Linked DNA regions of Homo sapiens: region 1 is linked to region 2. The links are contacts of gene promoters, found by promoter capture Hi-C in blood cells and fetal thymus (Javierre and others, 2016). All regions are on one chromosome and are shown on one strand. The core of a region is centred on a gene start or on the middle of the fragment in contact, and the rest is flanking DNA. Distances in the headings are between cores, read along the strand shown.

Region 1 (3,302 bases), core at 450-2,949, about 13 Mb after region 2:
GTGTTTTTACCTTTCTCAGCATTCCACAAGTTGCTTCCTCCTTCCTTTGTTCTCCTCTGTCTTTGCCTCTTTTGGAAAGTTCTAAGTTGCTAGCCAATCAGGACAAGTACAGAGGTCCCCTTCCAGCCAATGGAAACCGGACACGGTAGTAGGGTGCACGTGTCAGGTTATAAATGACCCTGTCTCCTTTATGCGTGTGTGCTCTCGTGGCAAGACTACTAGCGAGCGGCAACCTTTCTGCAGAAAGTAAACTAGCCTTGCTAAGAGCTCCTTTGTCTCAGTGTTGATTTTTGCAACACTGAGCGCCCGTTCCCAACATCAGTAAGGCTTTTCTTTTTAATGAAAAGCAGCCCCAAATCCTTTTCTAAGAGCAGCCTGTGAAGTCGAGCTGCAGGCACAGACAAACAAGGGGGTAGCTTGCTTGGGTGAATGGTGGCAGGAACTACCGACTAGACATGTTTAAGATGAGGGCTCCATCTTCGCTTCTCTGCCAGCCACGTGTACAGTAAGAAGGGGTTACAATAGGCATATGGGTGATTTTGTGCTTTTCGTTCATCTTTTCTGTGTTTAAAATGTTCAGAATAAGAAATTGGAACAAAGGAGACATGAATAGACAATTCCTAATCATCTTTAAGAGTCCGCTTTGTGTTTTACTTACCACCACCACTTTGAAGGCTTTCTTGCCTATACCAGGACAAACTCAGCTCTTTATCCCTTTTCCGAATTTTCCTGGTACTTTCACTTTGAATATAGCGCTTAATTAACATTCTGCCTTGTACCTAGGACTAACACACTATAAATTCCCAGAAGACAAAGTAGGGGAATACAATAACAGGATATAGAATTTTAACAGCTAAATTAGATGAATTTATGGGTGACCTTTATTGGGCAAAAGAAAATGTTAAGTTAGTATAAGATTTAGTATAAGCTACCATCTCAAAACTCAGGGTCTCACTGGAAGAGAAAGTGACTCCAGGTAGAATTCCTCAGGGAGACATTCACTTCCATCATTCGCTGAACCAGGAGCTTTGGACAGCCTCGGATTGCACCCGCATATCCAAGGACACCACATCAGCGGACAAGTCATAAACAGCCTTGGGAATACGCGGAAAGGTCAAATTTACCTAAACAATTAAATTCTCTTTTAAATTTTAAGGAAACACAAGTATGCTTTCGCTTTAGGTAGGGCATTTGAGAGCAAAATGTACTAATACTTTGAATCCGCCAAGCAGACACGATCTGGGTTTGACCGTTCTCTCCGGGTAAAGGTGAAGGCTGACCACGGGGGCCGCTCTCCCTCCAGGCCCCAGCCACGCCCTCTAACCCAGGTTCCCGTCCTGCACCGCGCCGCAAGTCCCCCCACCGTTCAGCGCAACCGGGCCCTCCCAGCCCCGCCGCCGTCCCCCTCCCCCGCCCTGGCTCTCTTTCCGCGCTGCGGTCAGCCTCGGCGTCCCACAGAGAGGGCCAGAGGTGGAAACGCAGAAAACCAAACCAGGACTATCAGAGATTGCCCGGAGAGGGGATGCGACCCCTCCCCAGGTCGCAGCGACGGCGCACGCAAGGGTCACGGAGCATGCGTTGGCTACCCGGCGCCGGGGACCGCTGCCACCCCGCCTAGCGCAGCGCCCCGTCCTTCCGCAGCCCAACCGCCTCTTCCCGCCCCGCCCCATCCCGCCCACGGGCTCCAGTGGGCGGGACCAGAGGAGTCCCGCGTTCGGGGAGTATGTCAAGGCCGTGACCCGTGTATTATTGTCCGAGTGGCCGGAACGGGAGCCAACATGGCAGCGGGGTTCGGGCGATGCTGCAGGGTGAGAGGGAGCCCAGCGGTGCGGTGGGGCTGGAACATGGGTATTGTGGTGTCGGAGCAGGGGGCCCTGGGCCAAAAATAGGTGCGGCCGGGAGGAGTGGGAAGTCGGGCTGAGGAAGGAGCCAGCCTAGGGGCCCCCAACCTGCTTTCACGCCTCCTACCACCGGACGGAACGTAGCCTAGCGTTTCATTTTCCGTATCCTCCCGTCAGGCGACCCCGTTATAGCCGGCATCCTCTCTTTAGAATATCGTTTTTCTTTCTCTGGTAAACCCTCCAAATATTTACCGCGGGAATCCCACCTTTTTCCAAAGTGACCCCGTCTCTGTGTCAGAACCACGGGAAAAAGAAAAATGGAGCAGCTACTCCTTGAAATACTTAATGTTTAATAAGCTTTTCGTTGTAACGTTTCCACGTTGCTTACGGGAAAAAAAAAAGTAAAAAAAAAACCTGCAGAATTTTATGTGAACTTGTGTGTATATTCTAGTATTGGATCTTAATAGATTCTAAATAAGTTTGTCACTAGATGAATTTTGGTATCTTAAATATTCTTGATATGTTCACACCACTGCCATTTAGATGTCACTTAAAATTAAGTTAAAGTTATGTCTTGGACCAAAAAAGCTGCGGTTTTAGAATAATCCTAAAGAATTGCTGCCCATGTTTTGCTGGTGTTATGCAAGTTAATGTGCAGTGAAGGCAGAAATTGGGAGATTTCAGCTATTTTTAACTCCTACACCAGAAAAGCAGATTTCTCAACCTCCAAGGAAGGATCTAAAAAAAACCTGATATAGAAAACTTACACCCTTTTTCTCTTCTTTAACCCATAAAACTGACACTCTTATATTCCCAAGAAATGCACAAAAGTGTTCAATTCTAGTGGTGCTGTTTCGATATTTGGAATTTCATTGTTCTAGACAGAGAGCCCGAAGTAATAAAACCAATAGTTATATAGCATTAGGCTTTCAAAACATTATCGTACTTTAATCGTCCGAAAATACGCAGTGAGATTAGTCCCATTTTTTGGTTTTGAACGGAAGCTATAAGCAGTTTGTAAACCTGTCTACGGCCACAAATATGGTTGTGGAACCTAGATTCACATTCAGCAATTATAACTCCAGATCCCGTGCTGTTTCTGTTTTCTATTTGCAAACCACCTCTCTAATTAACTGGCTAACTTTGTTATGTAATTAACAGGTTGATGGGCATTGTATTCTGGTAATAGCAACCTTTGCACTTTGTTCTATGTAACATATTTTCCTGAACAGTCACATGTGAAGTGACTTTTTCCCTATTTAAATTCCCTCGGTTGGCCAGGTGCGGCGGCTCACGGTTGTGATCCTAGCACCTTGGGAGGCCTCGGCGGGTTGATCACTTAAGGCCAGGAGTTCGAGACCAGCCTGGCCAAAGCAGGGAAACCCTGTCTTTACTAAAAATAGGAAAAATTAGCTGGGCATGGTAGCATATGCCTGTAATCCCAGGAGGCTGAGTCTGCAG
Region 2 (2,888 bases), core at 167-2,666:
ATAATTTCCTATGTAATTCAGAAGCATGTCTGGTAGTCCTTGCTCCAACAAAATCTGCGGTACTGTAAAACGGCATAGGATTACATTTTACAGTAACAGTATTTCTCTTGACATCATTTAGGAGTGAAGATAAAAATTTCCACTTATTTATTTATTTATTTATTTATTTTTACTTTTTTGAGACAGGGTCTTGCTCTGTCGCCCAGGCTGGAGTGCAGAGGCACAATCTTGGCTCACTGAAAACTCCGCCTCCCGAGTTCAAGCGATTCTCCCGCCTCAGCCTCCTGAGTAGTTGGGACTACAGGCGCGCGCCACCGCACCCGGCTAATTTTTTATATTTTTAGTAGAGACGGGATTTCACCATGTTGGCCAGGCTGGTCTGGAACTCCTGGGCTCAAGTGATCCGCCCGCCTCGGCCTCCCAAAATGCTGGGATTACAGGCGTCAGCCGCCGCGCCTGGCCAAAAATTTCCACGTTATAAAAAGCATCTTCGGACCGTCCTTTTTTCTTTCTTTCTTTTTCTTTTCCTTCTTTTTTTTTTTTTTTTCCCCACAAAGCCTCGCTCTGTCGCCCAGGCTGGAGTGCAGTGGCGCGATCTCTGCTCACTGCAACCTTTGCCTCCCGGGTTCAAGCAATTCTCCTGCCTCAGGCTCCCGAGTAGCTGGAATTACAGGCGCCCGCCGCCACGCCCGGCTAATTTTTTAATTTTTTAACAGAGACGGGCTTTCACCATGTTGGCCAGGTTGGTCTCGAACTCCCAACCTCAAGCGATCCACCCGCCTCGGCCTCCCAAAGTGCTGGGATTACAGACGCGAACCACCGCGCCCGACTGTCCTGTGTTTTAATGCTTGAAAATAATCTGAATATGGAAAATGAGTGCACATATCCCTTGATGTTTTATAAATAACCTACAGTCCTAATAATGGCTTGGCTTAGAGTTCCTTCACAACAGGAAAAGAAGGCATCCTGGCTTTTTTTTTTTTTTTTTTTTTAAATCAAAGTGAGGCTTGGGTTGGCTCTATCTTGGTCCTGAGTGCGAGGAAGGAGGGCCGCAATGCATGCTGGATCTTGCAGTTCCTACGCCAGAGGCAAGGGCGTGATGCTGCATGGCCTGCTGGTAGTTGAAGTCCAAGTGCTCGAGAGGAATTTATGGCAGCCGTAATGTGGTTTGTCTATCAGAGAGACAATGCTCACAGACGGATACTTTCTCTTGGTTCTGCGCTTGCTGCATTGGTGGATTAGCGGCTTGGGGTGGCGAACAGGTGGGAAAAAGGGATGGATAAAGTAAGCATAGCAGAGGCCTTTACGCCGCTGCTATCGCTACTGCCAATCGCAAGGCTTTCGTATCCCGGAAGTGGCTGATCTGTTGGATTTGACGCGGAGGCGGTTCCTCTTACTACGGTGGCCGGGGTGCTCAAAGTACCTGTAGCTGCGGCGCTGAGGTCGGAACGTCTGCGTGTGTGCGGGCTGGTTTTGTGGCGGCTGCTGCTAGAGCTGGAGCATTTGCCGGGTTGGTGGCTCCTGCACATTTTTACAGTTCTCCAGTCCTTCTCTTTCGGTGAGGGATCGGCTTGAGGCTAAAGGAGTCAAGAAGTTTGGGACTTAGCGTCTCTGGTCCCCGAATGACTGGGTTTCTTGCGGGGGTCCGCCTTCAGTGAAGACCCTGTGGCCAACCATCTGGGTTCTCTGAGGGTTTTGGCGCCTTCCTTGTCTCTCCTTTCTAGTGTCATTTGTCTTCTAACTCTTCCTCGCTTTGTCCTGGGTTGCAGAGATAAACCGTAAGCCTAACTGTGGGCAGCTGTTCCTCCTTTCCTTGTGGTTTTCTTAGATGTTGCAGGCAAGACTCTTTCCCCTGATCTATCGCATCCATTTGACCCCTCCTCATGCCAGTGCTCTGTCGGCCCTGTTTTTCCTCGTTTAAAAAATAAAAAAAGGGAAATAATAATAATAACTGGATCCCCACTGTCTCTCTGTTCTCATTCCTAGCCTCTTTCTCCCTTTTTGGTGTTTGTTACTGCTTCAAGCCATAACACACTGCCTTGCATATATTAATGCCTTTCCATCTAAATATTAACGTTCATTCACTTCATTTGGTTCCCGCTCACCGTGAACTCTCCCAACCCTACCCACATCTAAGGGCTTTTGAGGTTGGAGGTGTAGAATAAATTCTTACATATGATGACTATATTCATATATGAGAACCTTCAGCGGTCAACTCAGCATCACTGCTTATTGAGTTTATATTTCTTGTGATTTCTTTGGCTTACCTTTTCGTTTTGTATTGGTTATTTACCCACATGGGGCTCACTGCTACCCTATAGTTACAGAAGAATACCTCGTCTTACATCTTTTTATATCCGAATTACTTAGGAGTTTTCTTATGTTTTCCTGCTCGGACCATATGTCCCCGGTGGGTTTTTGGCAATGATTTTGTGTCAGTTGATGGCAGAAAGAGACAAGGGAATGATCTTCTTGCTTGCTTGTGACTTGTAATTAGATTATGAGCCATTGAGAATACCCAGAGGGAGTGGAAAGGCTTTGAAAGGTAAAGTCTATGTATTTTCTGAGTTTCAAATTGATAAAGCTTCTTCTTTGAACAGGAAGAGTTTCTATTTAGTCCAATAATCTGAGGCTATATTGAATTACCAGTTCATTCGCTATAAAATTTTTAGAACCACATGTCAAAAAGTGGCCCATCTAAAGAATTGTATAATTTAGCAAAAAGTCATTAAAAGCCATTTAATTAATGCTCTTTTTCTTTAAAATAGGATTCAAGTATTTGGAAAAATGTATTTATGGTGATTGGTTATGAAGTATTTCTAGATGTTTTGATGGTTCTGGTGAACAGCATCGTATTCTGTTCACTAATGTTTTATAAAAAGGCAGAA

What was found. The method cuts DNA at HindIII sites, captures the fragments that hold promoters and counts their contacts. A CHiCAGO score of 5 or more calls a contact.
Region 1: the fragment with the promoter of ACADM here is called in contact with the fragment with the promoter of ATG4C in region 2 in 1 of 17 cell types (non-activated CD4 T cells); the score reaches 7.5 in non-activated CD4 T cells.

The regions. Positions count from the first base shown.
Region 1 is chr1:75,723,010-75,726,311 of GRCh38, forward strand. ACADM (acyl-CoA dehydrogenase medium chain) reads left to right here and starts at 1,700. Exons shown (of 12, transcript NM_000016.6): 1 at 1,700-1,808. The coding sequence starts at 1,779. It also overlaps a transcript of SLC44A5 not described here. RefSeq lists enhancers at 1,086-1,175, 1,826-1,915 and silencers at 1,546-1,595, 1,646-1,695. The HindIII fragment of the contact is 3,396 bases long and covers 1-2,196 here.
Region 2 is chr1:62,782,716-62,785,603 of GRCh38, forward strand. It overlaps ATG4C (autophagy related 4C cysteine peptidase), which reads left to right and starts at 1,417. Exons shown (of 11, transcript NM_032852.4): 1 at 1,417-1,558. RefSeq lists enhancers at 1,118-1,167, 1,268-1,327, 1,448-1,627 and a silencer at 1,603-1,897. The HindIII fragment of the contact is 3,523 bases long and covers 1-2,582 here.